Linked DNA regions of Homo sapiens: region 1 is linked to region 2. Evidence: promoter capture Hi-C in 16 types of primary human blood cells and fetal thymus (Javierre and others, 2016). All regions are on one chromosome and are shown on one strand. Each heading gives the region's core, a stretch centred on a gene start or on the middle of the fragment in contact. The rest is flanking DNA. Distances are from core to core; before and after follow the strand shown.

Region 1 (7,679 bases), core at 175-2,674, 120 kb after region 2:
CGACCGGCCGGGACCAAGGGAGTGGGGTAGGAACGATAGGAGTCAGGAGCAGTTGGGGGCAGGGTGGGCTCAGTGGAGAGCCCTTGCCTGGGCCGGGATGTGGGACCCCGGCAGTGGGTCAGAGTCCAGCTAGGGATACAGATTTCTCTCCTCTCTCACCTTCGACACGGCCCGCCCCGGGTCTAGGATCGGGAGAACCCCCTGGAGCTGCGTCTGTCGGGCTCTGGACCCGCGGAGCTGAGCGCCGGGGAGGACGAAGAAGAGGAGTCGGAGCTGGTGTCCAAGCCGCTGCTGCGCCTCAGCAGCCGCCGGAGCTCCAGTGAGGCGCGGGCTGGGGAGGGAGAGTCCGGGAGCGCAGCGAGGCTCCCGGGCGCTCACGCCCCGCTCTACCTGCCTCCTGCAGTTCGGGGGCCCGAAGGCACCGAGCAGAACCGCGTGCGCAACAAACTAAAGCGGCTCATCGCGAAGAGACCGCCCTTACAAAGCCTGCAGGAGCGGGGTCTGCTCCGAGGTGAGGGGGCTGGGCCAGGTTCATGGATAAGAAAACTCCAGCGAGGCTCAGAGTAGAGCTTCCCAGAACTAGACCACAACCTTCTGTGACTGCTGCTTTCCCACTACCCCAGATTGTTTAGGGGAGAAGCTGGGGTGACCTGTACCCCTTTGCCAGATTGTTTGAAGCAGGGGAAGGGAGGTGGAGTGTATTTCCTTGCCCAGGCCTGGCACAGGCAGCCAGGAGGACCAGCCTCACTTAAGGATAAAGACCTATGCTGAGAAGAGCTCCTGTGAGTGACGCTGGCACTGGCTTCCCGCCTCACTCTACTTCCCCAGACCAGGTGTTCGGCTGCCAGTTGGAATCACTCTGCCAGCGGGAAGGAGACACGGTGCCCAGCTTTTTGCGGCTCTGCATTGCTGCTGTGGATAAAAGAGGTCATTTTCTCAGAGACCCCAGAATCCTCTTCCAACAGGCTAAGGCCTAGAATTTTCTGCCTCCCCCATTCTACCTAGTCTTCCTACTGCCCTTTTTCTCTCCACCCTTATATCCCTCACCACACACACTTTCAAGCAGCAGTCCTTATCTACTCCTTCCTCATCTCCCAGGTCTAGATGTGGATGGCATTTATCGGGTGAGCGGGAACTTGGCAGTGGTCCAGAAGCTTCGCTTTCTGGTGGACAGAGGTGAGAAGGCTTGTGGGCCAGTGGTTGTACTAAGAATGTCTTGCCTGAGAACCATGGGCGGTCCTACATGAGGAAGCTGGCAGAATAGAGAGGCCGTCAGGCTGGAAGTGTATGTCTTAGCTCCTGATCTCTCCTCATTCATGTTGCAGAGCGTGCGGTCACCTCCGATGGGAGGTATGTGTTCCCAGAACAGCCAGGACAAGGTACTTACATGGAAGACCCTTCAGATCCCTAAAACTTCCACATATCCTCTTTGCTTCCCGTGGAAACCCCCATGTACTATTCCTGGGAGGGTTGTCCTCATCCCCACCTTAGCTACCTTGCCCCACTGCAGACCCTCTAGGCATTCCTATAGTCTGCTTTGACTGGATTTCTCCAGAACTTCTAATCTCTCAGTCTCTAAATCTTTCTGGCCCTTCATGAGCCCCTATACCTCCTTCTCCCTCCAGAAGGTCGGTTAGATTTGGACAGTACTGAGTGGGATGACATTCATGTGGTCACCGGAGCCCTGAAGCTTTTTCTCCGGGAGCTGCCCCAGCCTCTGGTGCCACCACTGCTGCTGCCCCATTTCCGTGCTGCCCTTGGTAAGGGTTGGAGCTTTGGAAAGAACCCTTGATGTGGGGGACACGGGTGGTAAATAATAGAATAGAGGTTCCCTTATACTCTTCTTTCCCATTCTGACTTTAGAGATGGAAAATAATGTTCAACTCAGGTGCCTACTCCAGTTGCTTTTTTGTGAATGTTTAGAGGGCTGAATTGAAAAGAATTATGAGGCTATAGTTGGGCTATGTGAAAAAGAAAGCTGTGCTAGATTAATGATGTCTTCCATGCCTGTGGGAAAGAGCAGTGCATTTACCCATCCTGTCCTAGCACCTTCCCTAACCTTACTACCATGCCTTTCCCATCACTCTCTCTAGCACTCTCCGAATCAGAGCAGTGCCTCTCTCAGATACAAGAATTAATAGGCTCAATGCCAAAGCCCAACCATGACACTCTACGGTACCTCCTGGAGCATTTATGCAGGTCAGGAAGACAGAACCTCTTTGTTCATGCTGGGGAAAGGTGGAGTGGGGAATGCCACAGGGACTCTGTGCAGGTGGAGTGAAGGTAGGGAAGCACCTAAGTTTAATGGGCAGGTGAGGAAGCAGGCAACCTCTGTGCAGGAGCATATTACCAGAGTCAAAACCTTTATTTTTTTATTTTATTTATTTTTGAGACAGAGTCTCGCTCTGTCACCCAGACTGGAGTGCAGTGGCGCAATTTCAGCTCACTGCAACCTCTGCCTCCCGGGTTCAAGTAATTCTCCTGCCTCAGCCTCCTGAGTAACTGGGATTACAGGTGCCCGCCACCACGCCTGGCTAATTTTTGTATTTTTAGTAGAGACGGGGTTTCACCATGTTGGCCAGGCTGGTCTCGAACTCCTGACCTCAGGTGATTTACCCACCTCAGCCTCCCAAAGTGCTGGGATTACACCGTGCCCGTCAAAGACTTTAGGTCAAAACCTAAAGGTCAGCATCAAGTGGGGAAATGGAACCAAGATGCTGTGAAAGGAATAAGGGAAATCTTACTTCTCCCTTCCCTCTGCCTCTTTGTCTCCCATTGGGACATTGCTGATGGCTTCTTTGGTTGAACTGGGCCTGGGCAGTGACTTCTGAGAGAGGATGGCCACTTGAATTAAAGACTCCCAAACTGTGAGCAGGCAGAACTCTTGGGGCAGCCCCTGAAGTCGGAAGAGGCAGTTATATCTTCAGGTTGTATCCTGAAGGTTTCTCCACTGGTCCATCTCCATTCTCCTTGTATCTCCTTGGTTTTTTTGTTACCATGTGGAGGAATCCCAGAGTGAACTCTTCCCTGCTCAGAACTTTGAAGGGTTAGTTAGATTGCTATGAAGTGGCAAGCTGCTGCCATATATCCCCTTCCTTGGCCTTTGCTTACAGGGTGATAGCACACTCAGATAAGAATCGCATGACACCCCACAACCTGGGAATTGTGTTTGGACCAACCCTGTTTCGGCCAGAGCAGGAGACATCTGACCCAGCAGCCCATGCTCTCTACCCAGGGCAGCTGGTCCAGCTGATGCTCACCAACTTCACCAGCCTCTTCCCCTGATGCAGGGAAGGAAGAAGAGAAAACATATTTCCGGTCATCTCTGGTGGTGAGAGGCTGGTGTTCTGTTTTGAGGATATCCCTTTAAATCTCCCAAATGACTGTCTCTATCTTCATGAGTGTGACTTGAGGTGTTGGGATGGGTGAGGGAGCTTCTCTAAAGAGGAAAGTGAGTGGATTAACCCCTGCTTCTCTTCTTGTTCCCTGTTATCATTCCTCCCCAACATAATAATACATAAAGTGGCATGGTATTTTTTCTGATGCAGTTCCTTTATTATCAGGAAACAGTGTCATTATCAAATTTCTCCTCAAAACGTATACAGACTATACATAGCCCCCAGCCCATACCTCCCATCCCTGGGGCATCTTGTGCATGGGACTGCAGCTCCCCCAATTTTTCTGGAAGGATAGAAACCCCTTAGGAAATGCGATCTGTGATGGATGAGATTCCCTACTCTTTAGGCACTAGAGTTGAGGAATTCTGTTTCCCCAGGTAGGGATCTCAGTAAGACACTCATGTTGCCCACAGCCATGTTGGGGGGCCCAGAGGGAGGTGGGGTATGTCCAGAGCTGCCCCGCTGATCATGGGAAGGAGGAGGACTCAGCCCCTGGGGCTCATCCAGAATAGCCACAAAGTCCAGCTGAGTGTTGTCAAGATCAAGAGAGTCCAGGGGGTTACATACCTGTCCTTCGGGAGGAGGGTACAAGGCAGGACCCCCTCCTAGCCTGCCCACCTCAGGATGACCACAGCTGGGGTTTGTGCCTCCCACTTTGAGAGGCCCATAGCAAGTGGGCAATGGGGGCAGAAGTCGAGGTGGTGCTGCTGCCCTATGTGAAGCCCTATTTGCCCCCACTACAAAATTTTCATGGCATGGTGAAGGGGTGGGATAGGAACCTGACTTGTGATTGGGCAAGTTGGGTCCAAAGCCAGGTCCATATGTGTTCACTGGAGCTTTAGCACGGCTTGGGCTAACCTGGGAACCCCCCAGAAACTTGGGACTCTGGTAGGAAGGTTCCTGGGCGGGGGCATCTTCCCTGCCCCCACCCTCCCACAGTAGCTCCTGTTGAGATTGAACATAATTACACACAAGCTGAGCCTTGAGCTGCCCTGTGGAATGGGTGGGGGAATCAAAGTCCAGGCAAGGCCTGGGTTCTGAAGGAAGATAATCAGGGGGTGGCTGGGTATAGGGGCCTGACTGGAGATATTGGGGAGGAGAGGGCTGGGGGTAATGGGAAAAGAGAGGCTGTGGATGTGGGGGCCCCTCACTGGGGTGGGCATTGAGGCAGGGTGCCAGTCCTGTGGAGTCAGACCCCACTGGGCACCCCTGTTCTGGCTTGACTTGCACTTGTCCATAATGTTCAAGTCGAGGACACTGGCTGTAGGTTCCACCTAGAGCCTTGGGGCCTGGGTACAGCCCAGAGTGGGAAGGGAACTCACCCCATGTTTCTTGGGTGGGGTCAGGATATGAGGCCTGCTGGGGACAGGGGTTGGGGCCATAGTTGGTGGGTGGACCAGGCCCAAGAGGCAGAGAGCCTGGACCCCTCGCTCCATAAGGCTCAGCTGCTGCCCCTTCAGGTCCCCCATATCCCAGAGTATCAGTAGGTGGGAAGTCCATATAGGGGTTCAGACCACTGCCCACCATGGAGGTCCCAACTTCTGGCTCTTCCTGTAGCCCTCTAGCATCCATGGCAGCATTCTCAGTGATGCTGGGGGGCTGTGGTGAGTAGACAGAGGTTGGGAGGTAAGGATCAAAGTTCTGTCCTCCCCCTGCCACAGTGGGTGGGGTATGGACACAGCCCAGGCTCTTGAACCTCTGGACTCTAGCTGGAGCAGGACGGTCAGCAGCCTGGGCTGGGTCACTGGCCCTCCGGGTGACCCCTGCATTGGGGTTGTATCCTGGATACTCGGCTCGGCTTCTCCAAGGAGGCATGGGAAGACCACCTATCCGATCCAGGCTGGATGCTGCAGTGGGCGAAGTACCACCCCCTCTGGCTGAAGCATATCTTGCCCGAAGCAGGTAGTGCTGGGCAGGCATAAGGCCAGGCAGGGAGGATGCTCCATTCTCTGGTGGGGAGCCAGGGGGGAAAGGAGAGGCCAGGGAGGAGCGGCGGCTGACAGTATAGGCAGAGCTGATGCTGCTGGAGCTGCTGCTGCGGCGTTCAAGAGAGACTGGGGGGCCCACGCGGCGGGACACAGTGGTACCTGCAAGTGATGGGGAGAAAAGGTAGGATGGTCAAGGAGCTTCCTAAATTTCACCCTGCCTCCTCCATGCAACAGCCTTGCCCTGGATTCTCAGGGGTAAGCTCGTTATCCCTAACCAGTCTGTTCTGTCTCCTACTTCTCCCATGCCTATTCTGTTTCTGGGTTACCAAGGATTCAGGGTTGCTATGAACAGTTGTGCAGGTTGTGTGCTGCACAATCCTAGGGAACAGCATTCGCATCATAGCCTTTGCATACTTGTTTGTTTGTTTGTTTTGTTTTGTTTTGTTTGAAACAGAGTTTCGCTCTTGTTGCTCAAGTTGGAGTGCAATGGCGCAATCTCAGCTCACTGCAACCTCTGCCTCCCAGGTTCAAGCAATTCTCCTGCTTCAGCTTCCTGAGTAGCTGGGATTACAGGTGCCCACCACCATGCCTGGCTAGCCTTTGCATGTTTGTACATCACAACTATTTTCTGATAAATGGAAAGTGTCTTGAGGAAGGACACCATTTTCTAATTATACAAAAGTGCTGTGTGACAGCCCTCAAGGGTGACTTCCTCCTCTCAACCTCAGGGCAGGTCCAGATCTCACCCCAGCCACACCTCCCACACCCAGGTCTCACCGGTGTGGGACAAGCTGGGCAGTTTGAGACCCCGGGTCCCTATTGGCCGGAGTTGATGTAGCTGGTCCAGCCTGAGGTTCTCAAGGCGGCGAAGAGTGGACAGACCAGTGCCAGCAATGCAAGGTCCCTCGTCCAAGCTGGAGAGGTCTTCAGTGCTGCCCCCTGCATTGCCAGTCATTTCCACACCACTGTCTGTATTGGCTGCACTCCCTGCCGGGGAGTGGTCACTGCTGCAGGATGACTGGGCCCCAGGGCTTGGCTGTGGCTTCTGTGGAGAAGATGAGGTCTGAGGGCAACACCCTTCCCCACAGCTCCTTCAACTTGATGAGTGGCTGAAGCCTGTGTCCCAGTGACTGCTGGGGTTCCAAGGAAGCTTGTAAGTGTAGAAAGGGCTAAGCAGGTAAGAGATGGGGGAGCAAACTGAATGTGAGACGTTTGATGAGAAGAACCTAGGCTGGAGCACGGACTGGCTGGACTCAAATTCTTGCTCTTAGTTCTATGACCTTGGGCTATTTCTCTATGCCTGAGTTTCTTCAACTGAAAATGGGAACAGTGAGTCCCTTTATCATGAAGTTGCTGTGAGGAGTACATGAAATTATACATGTAAAAGGCTTGGAACATATACTAAGTGCTATTTAAGAAAGAGTTGCCGGGTGCAGTGGCTCACGCCTGTAATCCCAGCACTTTGGGAGGCCGAGGTGGGCAGATCACGAGGTCAGGAGATCAAGACCACCCTGGTTAACACAGTGAAACCCCATGTCTACTAAAAATACAAAAAAATTAGCCCGGCGTGGTGGCAGGCGCCTGTAGTCCCAGCTACTCAGGAGGCTGAGGCAGAATGGCGTGAACCTGGGAGGCGGAGGTTGCAGTGAGCCGAGATCATGCCACTGCACTCCAGCCTGGGCAACAGAGCGAGACTCCGTCTGAAAAAAAAAGAAAGAGTTTGGGTTGGATGCATTGGCTCATCCCAGCACTGTGGGAAGCTGAGGTGGGAGGATCGCTCAAGGCCAGGAGTTTGAGACCAGCCTGGTCAACATAGCAAGACTCGATCTCTAAAAAGAAGAAAAATTAGCCAGGCATGATGGGGTGTGCCTGTAGTGATCACTTGAGCCCAGAAGTTTGAGGCTGCAGTGAGCTATGATTATGCCACTACACTCCAGCCTGGGCGACAGAGCAAGACTCTGTCAGAAAGAAAGAGAGAAAGAGAGAGAGAGAGAAAGAAAGAAAGGAAGAAAGGAAAGAAGGAAAGAAGGAAGGAAGGAGAGAGAGAAAGAGAGTGAGAGAGTGAGACAGAAAGATTCTAAAACCTCTAGATTTGGGGAAGCCCAAAGAGCAACACTAAGACAAGAGACAGGCAGACTGGTCACAGAAGAGTGACTTCTATAGGAGGGAATGGATGGGTTGGGAAGTAACTAGAAAGATGTCCACAGGGTGGGCTGGGGTATGGAGGTGAGGGTTGCCTGGGCTCTCTCACCATGGCACCCTCTGGCACAGTCAGTCTGCTTTCCTCCCTGATGGGACCTCCTTCCCGCTCCCTCTTGGGCTCCACTGTAGAAATGGATGGTGCCCGAGGCAG
Region 2 (7,009 bases), core at 1,995-4,494:
CTTTCAAGGAGTCCCTGTCAGAAGCTAATGGTTCTCATGGCATCTCCAAGGTCACAAGCAGAAAAAGAGAGAAAGAGCAGGTAATGGTATCTGTACATATTTACTCTATGGAATTGCCAGGCTAGAGGAGAGATAACACTGATTCATATAAGGATATAGGGAACACCAGAAATTATTCTCATGGTTTCCTTGCACAAAACTAATTTCTGCATTTGGGAAGGATGTTAAATTTTCAACTCACTGAAACTTTTAAAATTATTTATTACTCCTTTCTGGGAAGGTTGACATGAGAATGGCAAGGATCATCACTTACCTGTGGAAAAGGTGATTGTTGACCTTGATCTTGGAGCTGGCCTTAAAGTCATCTGGCAGCAGCATCACCGGGGGAGGCACCTGGCTGAGCTCATTGATCTGATAAGCCAAACCATGAATAGGGAAGCCATGAAGAAGGGTGTGGAGAGCTACCCATACACTGTGTCTGGGCAGCAGTCATGCAAGGGCCACTCAGACCTCATTCCTTTAAAAACACTGGCTATGCATATGCTTGACAGAAGTGAGAGAATGTGTCTAACCCTTCTGCTGCCCAAGAAGGACTACAGTAAGCAACCCTCACACACAGCCCCCAACACGCCCACCCCCATGGAACTTCATGCTCACAACAGTCATTTTATATTAGGCTAACCCTGTAAGCAACTCAGGACTATTTTTAAAGCTGTGAGAAATTCTAGAAAAAAAAAAAAAAAAAAAAAAAAAAAAAAAACTCTGCAAGCTCAAGGCAGCTACATGTTCCATTAGAAAAAGAAAAAAAAAGGCATTTTAAAAATGCACAAGAGTGTTAATGGGATTCTGTGGGGCCAACCACAGCAAAAAGGATAAATGTCCATATCCTGCAAAAGGCATCTCTTTGCAAACAGGACCAGTCTTCCTAGACCACTCTGACCCAGTTGTTTGCAGTAGGCCCCCACCTGTCTAAGGTGTAAGGTAAAGGAAGAGCAGCTGATTTCAGAGCGAATGCAGGCAATCAGAGGATATGAGCTCATTAGGCGTCTGTTCCCTAAAGCCAAACTAATCCACAGCCCAAAGGACACAAGCATCACATGCTCTCCTCGGCCCCCAGGATCTGCAGTCTGCTAATTCAGGGTAGAAAGGGAGCTCTAGTACTTAAAAATCCTGAGCCGTGCTTTCTCCTTGGTGTTGCTACAGTACCTTTCACCTGCCTTTGTTACTGCATGACTCTAATCACTAGTTTATGTAAGTTCTCCCATCTAGATTGTGAGCTCTTCAAGAACAAGGGCTCATTCTAGTCGTCTGCATCTTTCAGGTGTCTAACTAGCACAATGTTTGGCACACAGTGATCCTGACATGTCTATTAATTGAATAAATGAATGCCTTGCCTATCCTTACTAGATCATTCCACAGAGGCTATGAACTGCAGTCTAACCTAAATCACACACACTGCAGTGCAACCAACTCCTCCCGTTCTCAGTAGAAAAGGAGGACAGAACATATCCCTCCAGATTAAAAAAAAAAAAAAAGCCACTTGAGACTCCCAGCCTAAAATTCAGCTATAGCTCCTCCTGCCCCCTCCTCCCCACCTGCTAAGCAAGCTGAATCATCACTAAGACATATGTTCAAGGAATTTCTCCATTCCAAACACTTGAAGTAGATGTGTGTTGGCAGAGGGTGGGGTGCTGGGGCTAAAGTATATATACCTAGTGAAGCTGAGGTAGGTCTTACATGTAACTCCCCCAATCCTTAACAAGGGAAAACCCTCCCTGTTAAGCATCCCACAGGGAATGGATGAATCACCTGGAAGGTACATATGAGAGGCAGCCCTACCTCCATCAGCCTTCCCCATACCAAGTGCCTTCCACTGAATACTCACTAAGAGCTTACCACCCAGAGAGCCACAAATCCAAAAGAGATCCGACTGGCCACAAACAACATTCTTAATTTTTGGTTAAGAAATTCTTTACCACAAATTAAAAATGTGACAAAACGCGTATTCTTCCTCACAACTTCCATCTCCACAGCCTAGCCATGACTATATTCAAGAACGCTGATTTCGAAAATATTCCGTGTCACATTCAAGATAACTGCATTTCTCCCACTCCAGACCTGACGGAAGATGGGCAATGGCTGTGCTTCTTTCAGCTGAGGTATCCTCAGGAAAGGGGATGGAGGTCTCCTTGGCCTCCTCCTGACTCCCAGAGCAGTTTCCTGCTTCAAAAGTTCACCACCATAGTGACCTCAGGAACAGAGCCCCTCAGCCTTCTCTTTGGTCAACAATCGCCACCACCTACACCAAACACGATCGCTCTAGCCAGCGATAAGGATGCAGTTAAGACCAAAGGCATATATACATAAGTCCTGAGAGTGTGCAACTTCTAGCTCAGGGTGGGGTAGCTTCTCTAAAATGCTGTACCTCTGGAAGGGAAAGGAAGGGACAAGCAGGATTAGAAAGCCCAGGAAACCTGGAGCTTCCCCGAGACAAAACCAAGATTCAAAAGCCAAGGACCGGGGCTGGGAAGCAAGGTGGAAAGCAAAGTGAAAGAACCTTTTCATCCATCTACTCCCCTCGGCCCCTCACCCTCCACCTACACTCTCACCAACAACCACCCGAGAAAAAGCCACTCCCCCTAATGTCCTCCCCGCTTGCGCCCGGTCCTGGCCAGTCCGCGTAGCCTGAGGCTGAAGCTAGACATGGCAGGAAGGAGTCAAAGCACAGGGAGCTGGATTTCACGGGGGGAAGGTGGAACTAGAGTGGAGCAGTAAAGAACTGTTGGGGAGAAAAAAGTCCACAGTCAGAAAACCTGCTGGGGGAACACCTGGGGTTGGTGGGCAGGGACCAAGACAACCCGGGGGAGGGGAGTGGCACTGCGTGGGGCTCCGGAGGCTGGAGCCTGGAAACAGGGACGCCTCGGAGCCGAGGGGTTTGGACAGGGCTGCGGGGGTCTAGGGCTGGTTCTCACCGAGTGGGCTACGCCCCACAGGAACACACCCACCAGCGGGTCGGCCGCCCGGAACACCTTCACCTTCTGCTGCACGAAATGCTTCTTCTTGGTCTTGGAGGCGAAGCCGAAACCTGGGCCGGGGCCTGCTGTCGCCGCCGATACCGTGGCTGGTGGGACCGAGGAGGACGCCATAGTCTCCCGCGCAACCGACCAAGTGGAAGCCGGAGCCGGCAGCTATCCAGGCGCCCGACCCCGGAAGCGGCGCTCACCTGCGCTGCTGTCACGTGACCGGAGGCCGGACAGCGGACGCGCGAACAGGGCGAGGCAGGACGGGGCGGGGCGACGCTGGCCCCGCCCCCCGGCGCCTGCCTGCCTGCCCCAATGTCCGCTCAGTGTGTGGGCTCACCTGGCGTGCGGGATCCCTGTAAGCTGACGAAGCAAGCGGCCCGCGAGGCCCCTCGAACTGTCAACTAGGAGACCGTGGTGCGGCCTGGGCTGGCCTGATTGACTCCCAAGGTCTAGGGCTTCTTTGCTGCAAAGTGGCCGCCTTCCGGCTTTGCCCAGTTTCTAATGAGTAACCTCGGACCTGATGCTAATGCGAAAGCATTCTTACCGAATGGGGGTTGGGAAGGGGAGGGTTTTGGAAACCCAAAATTCTTACCAGTGGTCTCAAGCGTCTTGAAATTCATTCATTCATTTAACAAGTATTTATTGTGCACTTAGTTGTACTAGGTCCTGTTCTAGGGGCTGATTTTCCTTTTATTGAAGCAGGGTATAGGACAGTGACTGCCCCGAAGTAGTTGGGAGTCTAATGGCACTGGCTGGCCAATGGAGATCAAGTTTGCAGTATGCAAAGTATGAGCTATCCTAGAACTGTGTATGAAGCAAAGACAATGATACAAAGAAAGGAAGTGTAGCTGGTCAGGGAAGGCTTCAAAGAGGATAGAGACTTTACTGAGTTTGGAAGGGTGGGTGGAGTTCAGGAATAGAGGTTAAAAGGCTGTCTAGACAAAGAGAACAGCATACAAAGACATGGAGACAAGAAAGAACGAAGCCGGGCGCGGTGACTCACGCCTGTAATCCCAGCACTTTGGGAGGCCGAGGCGGGAGGATCACCTGAGGTTGGGAGTTCAAGACCAGCCTGGCCAACATGGTGAAACCTCGTCTCTACAAAAATACAAAAATTAGCCGGGCATTAGCCGGGCGTGGTGGCGTGAGCCTGTAATCCCAGCTACTCAGGAGGCTGAGGCAGGAGAATCACTTGAACCCAGGAGGCGGAGGTAGCAGTGAGCCGAGATCACGCCAAGCAGAGATCACGCCAAGCAGAGATCACGCCACTGCACTCCAGCCTGGGTGACAGAGTGAGACTCCATCTCAAAAAAAAAAAAAAAAAAGCCGGGCATGTTGGCAGGTGCCTGTAGTCCCAGCTACTTGAGAGGCTGAGGCAGGAGAATCGCTTGAACCCAGGAGGCAGAGGTTGCAGTGAGCCCAGATCATGCCATTGCACTCCAGCCTGGGCGACAGAGCAAGACTCTGTCTCAAAAAAAAAAAAAAAAAAAAAAAGCCAGATGCGGTAGCTCACGCCTATAATCCCAGCACTTTGCGGGGCCGAGTCGGGAGGATCACCTGAGGTCAGGAGTTGTGGGCAAAGGATTACCCAGGTGCCAAGGCAAGAGACTGAAGGCACAAACTGTTGCAGTATAATAAAGAAAATAGTTAGAATAAAGAGTAGTTACAATACAAATTAGATATAGAGATGATCATGGACAATTATCAATCATCAGTATAAACATTATAAATCATTAGCTTTTAATATTACTCTTTGTGGCATTACTAATATAACCTAGGAATAACCGGCAGGTATAGGGTCAGGTGCTGAAGGGACATTGTGAGAAGTGACCTAGAAGGCAAGAAGTGAGCCCTCTGTCACGCCCGCATAAGGGCCATTTGAGGGCTCCCTGGTCAAGCGGTAACACCAGTGCCTGGGAAGGCACCTGTTGCTTAGCGGACCGCGAAAGGGAGTCTCCCTTTCCGTGGAGGAGTCAGGGAACACTCTGCTCCACCAGCTTCTTGTGGGAGGCTGGATATTATCTAGGCCTGCCTGCAGTCATCCAGAGGCCTAAACCCCTCCCTTTGGTGCTGTGCTTCAGTGGTCACGCTCCTTGTCCACTTTCATGTTCCTCCTGTACTCCTGGTTCCTCTTTGAAGTTCTTAGTAGATAGCGGTAGAAGAAATAGTGAAAATCTTAGTCTTTGATCTTTCTTATAAGTGCATAGAAGAAAATGCTGACGTATGCTGCCTTCCCTCTCTGCTTTGGCTACCTAAAAGGGAAGGGACCCCTATCCCATGATCACGTGATTTGCTTGACCTTATCAATCACTTGGACAACTCACCCCTCCTTACCCTGCCCCTTGTCTTGTATTCAATAAATACCAGTGCGCCTAGCCATTAGGGGCCACTATCGGTCTCCGCGTCTTGGTGGCAGTGGTCCCCAGGCCTAGCTGTTTTCTCTTTATCTCTTTGTCTTGTGTCTTTATTTCTTACAATCTCTCGTCTCCGCACACAGGGAGAACACCCGCTAAGCCCAGTAGGTCTGGACCCTACAAGGAGTTCGAGACCAGCTTGACCAACATGGTGAAACCCCATCTCAACTAAAAATACAAAATTTAGCCGGGCGTGGTGGCGCACACCTGTAATCCCAGCTACTCAGGAGGCTGAGGCAGGAGAATCGCTTGAACTGGGGGAGGGGGGGTGCCAAGGTTGCAGTGAGCCGAGATCCTGCCACTGCACTCCAGCGTGGGCAACAGAGCAAGACTCCATCTCAAAAAAAAAAAAAAAAGGATCACTCAGGCATGTTCCTGGAGGATGACTTGAGTATTGCAAAAGTTCAGGGAGAGATAATGAACTAAAGCAGTGGCTGTTGTGTTTGAAAGAAGAGGGTGGCATCTAAAGATGCAGTTTGATGTCAACTTGGAAAATTCATATGAATGTGGGGATTGAAGGAAAAGGGAGGCATTGAGAGTGAGTCTAAGGCTTCTGGCTAATGATGATGATGATATCAGAGAGATGATGGTGACATGAAAAGGAGCAGATTCAGAGGAAGGTGAGTTCGGTTTGGAACATGTTTGAGGCATCTGAGGTCAGCTGGACACATGCTCCCGCAGCTGAGCAGAATGTTCTGGACTGGGGATACGGATTGAAGAATTGTGGAATCTGCAGGCATGGATGACATGTCTTAGAAAGAGCAAGGAAGGAACCAAGGGCTGAGCCCTGGGATAGAGCAGCATTTAAGAGGCCTGGGGAGGAAGACTCGGAAGGGTGGCCAGGGAAGTACAGGGAGCCAAGACAGCAGGGTCACAAAAGCCAAGGGGAGTTGAGTTTCAAGAAGGAAGGAGTGAAGAAGTATATGTCATGGAGAGGTGAAGCAAAACAAGGACTGTTGTCCAGAAGAAATGTCCACTGTATTTGGTAACTAATGCCATTTGGAAAAGCAGTTTTGAGCAGAACAAGAGGCAGATCAAGGTGGGCTAAGGAATGAATAGGGGGTGAGGAAGTGGGGATGGGAAGCTTGGGATGGTTTCTGGATATCTGACTTTAAGAAAACAAGTAAGATAGAGAAACACACAGTTAGAGAAACACACAGTAAAGGGAGGGACTCTTATGGGAAGGACCTTACAAGGAGATGAGACCACTGAGACAGGCATTAATAAAGAAGATGCACCGAGGCGGGCGGATCACTTGAGGCCAGGAGTTTGAGACAAGCCTGGCCAACATGGTGAAAACCCATCTCCATTAAAAATGCAAAAATTAGCCGGGCATGGTGGTGTGCACATGTAGTCCCAGATACTCAGGAGGCTGAAGCAGGAGAATTGCTTGAACCTGAGAGGCGGAGGTTGCTGTGAGCCGAGATTGTGCCGCTGCACTCCAGCCTGGGCAACAGAGCGAGACTCTGTTTTAAAAAAAAAAAAAAGATGCAAACTCCTCAAGTCTCCATCAGTTTATCAGTTTTAGATATGTTATATATTTGTATATTGAGATTCTATATCAGTATCTCA

Evidence for each region. The method cuts DNA at HindIII sites, captures the fragments that hold promoters and counts their contacts. A CHiCAGO score of 5 or more calls a contact.
Region 1: a contact is called between a fragment that was not itself captured here and the fragment with the promoter of PIP4K2C in region 2, in 11 of 17 cell types (naive CD8 T cells, total CD8 T cells, neutrophils and 8 more). The highest score is 9.9, in naive CD8 T cells.

Annotation. Positions count from the first base shown.
Region 1 is chr12:57,468,123-57,475,801 of GRCh38, reverse strand. ARHGAP9 (Rho GTPase activating protein 9) reads left to right here. Exons shown (of 18, transcript NM_032496.4): 11 at 187-319; 12 at 404-511; 13 at 829-927; 14 at 1,099-1,176; 15 at 1,326-1,379; 16 at 1,626-1,760; 17 at 2,094-2,199; 18 at 3,114-3,533. The coding sequence ends at 3,285. It overlaps GLI1 (GLI family zinc finger 1), which reads right to left. Exons shown (of 12, transcript NM_005269.3): 10 at 7,578-7,679; 11 at 6,104-6,371; 12 at 3,534-5,485. The coding sequence ends at 3,741. Among named protein-coding and RNA genes, the nearest start is that of ARHGAP9, 7.9 kb to the left of the region's middle. The HindIII fragment of the contact is 536 bases long and covers 1,157-1,692 here.
Region 2 is chr12:57,587,427-57,594,435 of GRCh38, reverse strand. It overlaps PIP4K2C (phosphatidylinositol-5-phosphate 4-kinase type 2 gamma), which reads right to left and starts at 3,244. Exons shown (of 10, transcript NM_024779.5): 1 at 2,973-3,244; 2 at 314-411. The coding sequence starts at 3,146. RefSeq lists a silencer at 3,147-3,406 and enhancers at 3,005-3,506, 3,587-3,636. The HindIII fragment of the contact is 11,010 bases long and covers 1-6,523 here.